Linked DNA regions of Homo sapiens: all the other regions are linked to region 1. Evidence: promoter capture Hi-C in 16 types of primary human blood cells and fetal thymus (Javierre and others, 2016). All regions are on one chromosome and are shown on one strand. Each heading gives the region's core, a stretch centred on a gene start or on the middle of the fragment in contact. The rest is flanking DNA. Distances are from core to core; before and after follow the strand shown.

Region 1 (2,882 bases), core at 118-2,617:
CTAGGGTCTCACCCTCTCGCCCATGCTGGAGCAGTGGCAGGATCATGGATCACTGCAGCCTCGACCTCCCGGGCTCAAGCAGATCCTCCGACCTCAGCCTCCAGAGTAGCTGGGAATACAGGCGTGCGCCACCACGCCCGGCTAATTTTTGTATTTTTTGTACAGACGGGGATTCACCATATTGGCCAGGCTGGTCTTGAACTCCTGACCTCAAGTGATCCACCGACCTGGGCCTCCCAAAATGTTAGGATTACTGGCATGAACCACGGCGCCCAGCCCATCCGACTTTTGTAACACTCAGAATTGTAGTTTTGTTTGTTTGTTTGAGACCGAGTTTAGCTCTTGTTGCCCAGGCTGGAGTGCAGTGGCGCGATCTCGGCTCACTGCAACCTCCGCCTCCCGGGTTCAAGCGATTCTCCTGCCTCAGCCTCCCGAGTAGCTGGGATTACAGGTATGGGCCACCACCATGCCCGGCTAATTTTGTATTTTTAGTAGAGATGGGATTTCTACTGGCTGGTCTTGAACTCCTGACCTCCGGTGATCCGTCCGCCTCGGCCTCGCAAAGTGCTGGGATTACAGGCGTGAGCCACCGCGCCCGGCCCCAGAACTGTAATTCTATGACCACCCTTATAAATGTAAATATCAGGTAAGAAAATTGCTGGGTATTTTTCCTACCATAAACTGACTTACTGTAATCCTGTGGATTTTTCCTTTTAATACCTTGTTTTTCTTAGGTCTGGACTCCCTTGAAAAGCACTGCAAGTAAAAGCACTTTTTGTTTCCCTAATATTTCTCTATGAGTTTTCTTTTAAAGACCTAAGGTTCTAACTACAGGTATAAAAGACTCCAATGTCGGAACTAGAACCTAAGTAAGTTAGAATTCAAGACGAGTAGGAGTTTTCCGGGGGAATCCCATTGCTTTCCTTTTTGGCTCAGTGGAGTGAAAAGTTGTGCCTTCAAATCCATTAATTCGGAGCAGACTGACAGATGCGGAGTAAAGAGTTTAGGCAAAATACCTCTCGCACTCAGCTCTCCGCCATCATCTTGCTCCCCAGAAACATGGGACTTTCTCCGGAAATTTCAATAGAGGAGCCAGTCGGCGTCCCCCGTGCACCTTTCCCTTGGTCTAAGGGCCAACCAGTGATCTGCTGCCGTCCTGCGCCTCTTTCCCACACCCTGGGTCTCTAAAAACCAGTTCCCAGCTGTCCGAAAGGTAAAGACGTGTCTCTCGCTGGTTTCTCGAGGTTCTGCCCCGCGCGAGGGCCTCACCTGTGGGTAGAGGTGCTGCATGAACTGCTCCCGAGAAACGCCCTCCAGCCGGGGTACCGGGAGGTGCTGCCCGGCCATGGTTGCTCACGCCTGCCCTCTTCCAGGTCTTCGGAACTTCGGCTCTAAAGCGTTCCTCAGCGCCATCCGCCCGGAAACACGAGCGACAGAGAAAAGGTCCGCGAGGCCGGCAGACTCCAGAGTGGCTGGGTCCGAGCGCGGGGCGGGTTGCCGAAGGGCCTCGGCCTGGGCTGCGTGCTGGAGAGCGGGGACGGGGCCGACTCACCAGAGGCTGCAGCAACAGGTCCACTTTGCTCTCCAGTCTCTTTCTCCGACACCGCTGAGGCGGTTTCCCACCGACTTCCTTTCCATACAGCACCGGCAGGCACCGGTGTGAAGGGTCATAAAAATGGCGCTGGCCGCTCGTTTGCTACCCCAGTTCCTGCACTCTCGGTCGCTGCCCTGCGGGGCCGTCCGACTCCGGACTCCTGCTGTGGCCGAGGTGAGGCTGCCGTCGGCCACACTTTGCTACTTCTGCCGCTGTCGCCTCGGCTTGGGAGCGGCGTTATTTCCACGAAGCGCTAGGGCCTTGGCAGCCTCGGCGCTACCTGCCCAGGGCTCCCGGTGGCCAGTGCTCAGCAGCCCGGGACTCCCCGCAGCCTTCGCTTCTTTCCCTGCCTGCCCTCAGCGCAGCTACAGCACGGAGGAGAAGCCCCAGCAGCACCAGAAAACCAAGATGATCGTCCTGGGATTCTCCAACCCCATCAACTGGGTTAGGACTCGAATTAAGGCCTTCCTTATCTGGGCCTATTTCGACAAAGAGTTCAGCATCACAGAGTTCTCCGAGGGAGCGAAGCAGGTTTGTTTATTTCCCTGATTGACCTATCCGTCTCTAATGAGTTCAACTATTGCTCGCAGAAGTGCTTAGCAGTGAGTTTTCTTCACTGGGATACAAGTGATCAAACGTGATTAGTGGCCCAGACATAGAGCCTTCCAGCCATTGCTTGACTTAAAGTAAGCTTCTGGGCCGGGAATGGTGGTACACGCCTGTAGTCTCAGCTACTTGGGAGGCTGAAGGGGAGGATCGCTTGAACCCAGGAGTTGGACGTTGTAGTGAGCTGTGATCGTGCCATTGCACTCCAGCCTGGGATACAGAGCCAGGCCCTGTCTCAGAAAGAAAAAGCTATATGGCTCATCTTGTCTGAACATAATTTTCAAATTTACAAAGTGGGCAAGACAATGCCTGGCACATAGTAGGCACTCCATGAATGTTTGCTGAATACATTAATAAATGGGTAAGATTGAAGAATAATTGAGATAACATTTCCAAAGTGCTGTAATGTCACCTTGGGTAGAAGAGCAGAACTTCCTGCCAGCTATTAGACAGAGCCGACCAATACACCACCCCATACTCCGTAAAGATTAAACTGGAGATGAGCAATTTTACCCTTTCAAAGGATTTGCTGAGACTGCCTGGTGGCTAAGTGCACAGCACCCTGCACACAGAAAATATTTAGCCTTTAGAGATTCTTATCCCTGACTTTGTTAGTTACGTACCTGTTTCTGAATGGCTGATTATACCTTGCCTTACCCTTGTGACATATGGTCACTTGGGT
Region 2 (2,882 bases), core at 247-2,746, 6.8 Mb after region 1:
ATGGGTTACGTTGCGATACACGATCAAACATCGCCCTTATAAGCTCTGTGGTATCCCCGAGCCCCACTCCTGTATGCAGGGAAATTAGTCATTCTCCTTGGTAAACTTTCTTCAAGTAAGTCCTTCAGCTACAGCCGCGAACATATGCTTTTTGACCTTTGAGGGAATCCGTAAGATCTCGTGAGAAGCGCAGCTTCTCGGGGAAGCTGTCATGGCTGCTCCTGTACGTAGTCACGGTCTTGTGCTCTAAGGTGAGTGGAGGACGAGCTTGGGCTTAGCGGCAGCCCGTATCACATCCTAGACTTTTTACTTCGAGGAGAAGAGTCTCACGAGTTGTCCTGGAAGTAAGTTTAAAGGAGGTGGGTTAATGCTGGGCGGCCCAGCTGCGGAAGGACAGGCTCTTGAAGTTGGTTCTGGGGTCTGGTGAGGCTGGCTGGTTGTATAAGATCTTCCTCTTAAGCGCAGGCCACGTGCAGACATCGCTTTCGTTTTCTGCTTCTTCCACTGAGCCGTTCTACCTGCCCAGGTCCCTATTCTTGATGGTCTGGGTTCGGCCGTTGCTAAATCGTCATGTTGAAAATGATCTATCAGCCGGGCGCGGTGACTCACGCCTTGGGAGGCCGAGGCGGGTGGATTACCTGAGGTCAGGAGTTCAGGACCAGCCTGGCCAACATGGTGAAACTCCGTCTTTACAAAAAATACAAAAATTAGCCGGGCGTGGTGGCATACGCCTGTAATCCCAGCTACTTGGGAGGCTGAGACAGGAGAATTGCTTGAACCTGGGAGGTGGAGGTTGCAGTGAGCCAAGATCGCGCCACTGCACTCTAGCCTGGGGGACATAGCAAGACTTTGTCTCAAAAAAAAAAAAAAAAAAAAAAAAAACAGAGAAGAGAAAAGAAAATGATCTATCAATGCTAATCCCCTAATTTTCACCGAGGACATTTCCATAACAATGCCAACAAAAGTCTCTCCTACAGAGAAAGCTTTATGGAACGCTTTTGCACCAGAAAAATCTCATTAATACAATGACTACTTCCAAAGTGACCTGGCTTCTTTGAAACTGGACACATTGTGGTAGATTGGAGGGAGCCCACATTGGTAAAAAAAACTTTTACTGTTTTATGTAAATGTTTAATGGCTCCATAGGTTCCCCATTTTCTCTTCTGTTAAATGCATTTCATTTCTTTAAGTAAAAGTTTTGTTTTAATTTTTATTCTTTTCATTACTTCTTCCCCTACAGGAAAACGACAGCACGTGTTCTTTTTCACTAGTAGAAGTGACGTTGGTTTCATGTTGACAACTTTGAAGCCATTTGGAAGTGTTTCAGTGGAGAGCAAAATGAATAACAAAGCGGGCTCCTTTTTCTGGAACCTTAGACAATTCAGTACATTAGTTTCAACAAGCAGAACTATGAGGCTATGTTGTTTGGGACTTTGCAAACCAAAAATAGTTCATTCAAACTGGAACATTTTAAATAACTTTCATAACAGAATGCAATCAACTGATATCATTAGATATCTCTTTCAGGATGCATTCATTTTTAAATCAGATGTTGGCTTTCAAACAAAGGGCATAAGCACTCTAACAGCCCTTAGAATTGAAAGACTACTTTATGCTAAAAGACTGTTTTTTGACTCAAAGCAGTCTCTTGTCCCTGTTGATAAATCTGATGATGAATTGAAGAAAGTAAACCTTAATCATGAAGTCTCCAATGAAGATGTTCTTACCAAGGAAACAAAACCAAACCGTATCAGCAGTAGAAAACTGTCTGAGGAATGTAATTCCCTGAGTGATGTGTTAGATGCATTTTCAAAAGCGCCCACATTTCCTAGTAGCAACTATTTCACAGCAATGTGGACAATTGCCAAAAGACTGTCTGATGACCAGAAGCGCTTTGAAAAACGACTGATGTTTAGCCACCCTGCATTTAATCAGCTCTGTGAACATATGATGAGAGAAGCCAAGATCATGCAGTATAAGTACCTACTGTTCAGTCTTCACGCCATAGTGAAGCTTGGAATCCCTCAGAACACTATTTTGGTGCAGACTTTGCTGAGGGTGACCCAGGTAAAATAAAAAGGAGATTTAAACATGCATTTACTTGATTTAGAATATTTTGAAAGAATGAAGGGATATAGATATGTAGCCTTCTTAAAAGAGACTATCAAATGGAATGGTAGTTTCCTTTATATTTATTTCTGCATATATATTATATGATTTAGAGGCCTTAAGTTAGCTATTTTCTTCCTTTTGCTATGGAAATTTATGAAAGCCTTCCACATTTACCATCCCCAGGGTTGAGTAGTGGTGAAGAAGCTAAAGTGAGGAGAGATGCAAGATATACAAAGAAAGCCTGGGTAGTTGAAGAAGGAGAGAAGGGAAGGGGAAGGAAGAGAATTTAGTCCATGGTAGAATTGGAATTCAGGCCCAGTAGATGATACCTAAACTGATGAGCAGAATGATAGTGAAGGGGATGGTGTTTCAAGTAGAGAGGATTGCATGCCCTACTGTTCCCAGAGGAAAAGTTTGGCAAATTTGAAGAGCTGAAAGTAGTTTGGTGTAGCTGAAGCACAGAATGATGGAGTTGTATGTTTGAGTGGGTGGGAACAAGTTTTGTACATGGCGATCAAAGGAGAGGAGTGAGGGGCAAGAGGCTTAGGGGCAGAACAAGAGGCCAGAAAAATAGGAACCAAATCATAAAGAGCCTCTTACGGCTAGCTAAGGAGTATGCATTTATCCTGTAGGCAATGGGAATCCGTTGAAGAATTTTAAGCAATGGGTTGACGTGCTCAAATTTGTATTTTAGATCACTGAATGAGTGGAAGATGTATTGGAAGAAGGTTAAAATTGGATGGAGGGAGCCATTTTTAGTCTAAAGCAAG
Region 3 (2,882 bases), core at 228-2,727, 6.1 Mb after region 1:
GGAGCTGTCCAGAAGGGGGATTTTGGACCCAAAGGAATCGGGATGAAAGGGGGTGGGTACTCAAGCTGAAAATAACACCCCCAGTTGGTGGGGTAAGGGCTAAAAAAGGCAATAGGGAAAGATTGTCCGGCAGAAACACCACCTGAGTTTACCTCCTCCTTCCCACCCCAAAAACCCAGTCACTAACTAATAAAGCTAAGAAAAGCCCCTTGCAAACTTTTCCAAACCGGAAGAGAAGGCCCTCTCCCCAACCTGGGGGGCTCTAGGGGGAAGGGGCTGGAGTTAGCAGCCCCGAATGGGCTCGCGGGGAGTTGGGTGGGGCGCGGGCGAGGGGTGCAGGGGCGGAGTACCTTCTTCAATGGACAGGAACTGGCAAAGAGTTTCAAAATAGCCGAGTGCGCTCCCCCACGCCCTGGGGGGTCCCGGGCGCTAGGACCAGGGCTCCCCGGAGAGACAGCGGCCCCCAGTTCGGGCCTAAAAGGAAACTTTCTGGGCCGCGGCTGCACCTGACTCCTCACCGCCCCTCCACCCGACCCCACGCCCGCCAGGCCGCCCGCCCCGCCCCGCCCCGGCCTGGCCGTCCGGAGCGCGGAGGAGGGGGATAAATAAATTCAACTCTTACCGGAATCTGGGGGCCGTCTGCGAGAGACCCGGGGGAAGGGGAGCCGGGCGCCCATTCCCCACTCCCCACTCCTAGGCCCTGACGCCCCTGTCCCGGCAGCCCGGGCCTGCCGCCCCGCGGGAAAGCCTCCGGGCCGGCGCGGGATTCGGCCCAGCAGCGCCGCCGTCCCACCCGGAGACCCCGGGGGACTCGAGGGGGCGCGCGGAGGCCCGGGGTGCGGGGGCAGGGCGCGGCTGCCGTGGGGCCTACCGGCCCGAGGCCTACCGGCGCCCCCCCCTCCCGCCGCACACCCCCACCTGGCCCGCGCAGGCCGCTCCGCTCGCCCCACTCCGGCTCCGGCTGGACCCCTGCCCGCCCGCCGTCGCCGCCCGCGGGCGCCCCGGAGGCCCTCAGGCCCCCGGCCTCCACCACCCGGGCGCCGGCCCCACTCACCCTTTCATTCTCCGCCCGGGGCCTGGCGTGGGCCGGCGAATCCCCGGCCTCACGTAAGCGCGCTCGCCGCCCGCCCAGCCTGCGCGGCCCAGCCCGCCGCCCTACGGGAGCCCGGGGATGTGGGCCGGGCCTGGGGCCGCCTCTGCTTACCTTTCAGCTGCTTTTTTTTTTCTCCTTCCCCCCTGTTCCCTCGGCTGGGCTGACAGATCAGAGTGAGAGGCGCTGGCAATGGACTAGGAAGCTCGGCTGCCGCTGCTACTGCTCCCCCCTGGGCTCCGGCGAGAGCCTTTCCCTGTCAAGCAAGAGGGGTGAGGATCATATTTTTATTTTGGAAACTAAAAAGTGCTCCCAGGGTCGGTGATTATTAAGGGGAAATCCCTGAATATACTCTCCAGCCAAGAAGGCAGGGCTGCCGGGGCTGTACAAGAAGAGGCAGCAGCCTCCTACAGCACCACTACAGGCACTGCGAGGACATAACACCAGAGAGCTGCTCCTCTGCCCTCCGAAACGACAACTTTCCTACCATCTTGGAGGCAGAGCAAAGGGGGGCCAGGGGGAAAAGTGCACCCGCTCCCGATAAAGTACAAATTTTTACTTCTCATCTCTGGAAAAAAGTCCACACCGGCCGTCTACACCCGCGCCTGGGGGAGAAAGCAGGGAAGAAACGGGGGGTGCATGAGAAACGTTTTCATTTGCTCCAGGGGGAAAAATGTTTCTGCATCTTCTGATGGAAAGAAATCTTTACAAGACACAGGTTTTCCGGTGGTTATTGTTTTTTATTTTCTGTTTTTAATTTTTTTCATGTTAGTGACAGTGATATTTTAATATTTTTTTAAGCCAGTAATAATTTTTCTCCATTACAGGGCTAAGTTCTGTGGCTGGTGGTCAGTTTGTAAATTTATACTTAAAGAGACTTAATAGTAACTTCATTTATTTGTCTGGTTATGTTATTGTATATATAAATATTTATGTTTTCATATATTGCATATAAAAATTTGTGTTACATGTTACTCTCAGAACAGATTGCTGTAAGACAATTGTAAAAAAACATGTCTTTCGTCTGTTTCTCAAAGCAATGTAAATAAAACCTATGGACTGTCCAGAAAGGCATGATACAGTGTGTCATTTTCCACAGTGCAGATAAAGGCAGCTATCACTGGGGATTTAAAAACGGCCCCTGTTTCTGGAAATTCTGTTATGCTGCCCATACAGAAAGGATACAGTAAAACTGGAAAGAGATTTTAAAGACAGCCTTAGATTTTTCTTGAGGTAAAATAGCTTATTAAGAATTATATCCGGGCATTTAATTTTTTTATTTATTTAGATTCTTTAAACTCTAGCTAGATCTTTGGTGCATTACACATGTTGCTATCTGCTTTTTGTGTCACAGAATTGAGAAATGTGGCTATTTTTGTTAGTTATGTTAGTTCAGAACTTCCAATGTGCTGCCAGCCTGTATGATAGACTTTTTGTATATTGCAGTGGATGTCATGAATTTACTTTTTTAAATGAGCAAAGCTTACTAGATAAATGGGATCAGAGTTAAACAATGCTGTTAGCACAGAGGTGAGAGGGACAAAGGGTACCCATTTACATCGATTCCAATAGAACGCTTATTGGAGGATAAATTGCAGAGACATTTTTCTATTTTTGTGAAGAAAGAGAAAAATAATAGAAAAAGAACCGACTATCTTTGTATGTTCTACTGGGGATGATGATTTAAATCTTGTATTAAAAGTTATTTTTCTAACACATGTTGACTAACCTGGCAGGAATGAATTTGTTATATTAGTGCCCTGAATCAGTAGAATATTTAATTTCTTTGTAA

Evidence for each region. The method cuts DNA at HindIII sites, captures the fragments that hold promoters and counts their contacts. A CHiCAGO score of 5 or more calls a contact.
Region 2: a contact is called between a fragment that was not itself captured here and the fragment with the promoter of TYW5 in region 1, in 1 of 17 cell types (non-activated CD4 T cells). The highest score is 5.4, in non-activated CD4 T cells.
Region 3: a contact is called between the fragment with the promoter of INO80D here and the fragment with the promoter of TYW5 in region 1, in 5 of 17 cell types (naive CD8 T cells, total CD4 T cells, total B cells and 2 more). The highest score is 10.9, in naive CD8 T cells.

The regions. Positions count from the first base shown.
Region 1 is chr2:199,954,124-199,957,005 of GRCh38, forward strand. TYW5 (tRNA-yW synthesizing protein 5) reads right to left here and starts at 1,368. Exons shown (of 8, transcript NM_001039693.3): 1 at 1,270-1,368. The coding sequence starts at 1,347. MAIP1 (matrix AAA peptidase interacting protein 1) reads left to right here and starts at 1,459. Exons shown (of 5, transcript NM_001394955.1): 1 at 1,459-2,125. The coding sequence starts at 1,676. RefSeq lists enhancers at 1,012-2,211, 1,322-1,441, 1,612-1,771, 1,792-1,891. The HindIII fragment of the contact is 7,808 bases long and covers 1-2,283 here.
Region 2 is chr2:206,765,404-206,768,285 of GRCh38, forward strand. FASTKD2 (FAST kinase domains 2) reads left to right here and starts at 203. Exons shown (of 12, transcript NM_001136193.2): 1 at 203-344; 2 at 1,241-2,067. The coding sequence starts at 1,291. RefSeq lists an enhancer at 94-473. The HindIII fragment of the contact is 1,030 bases long and covers 982-2,011 here.
Region 3 is chr2:206,084,697-206,087,578 of GRCh38, forward strand. It overlaps INO80D (INO80 complex subunit D), which reads right to left and starts at 1,478. Exons shown (of 11, transcript NM_017759.5): 1 at 1,205-1,478. INO80D-AS1 (INO80D antisense RNA 1) reads left to right here. Exons shown (of 2, transcript NR_186084.1): 1 at 1-52; 2 at 1,261-2,808. RefSeq lists silencers at 209-503, 405-454, 495-694, 715-884, 965-1,174 and enhancers at 1,225-1,514, 1,241-2,060, 1,565-1,614, 1,625-1,734. The HindIII fragment of the contact is 4,007 bases long and covers 1-2,570 here.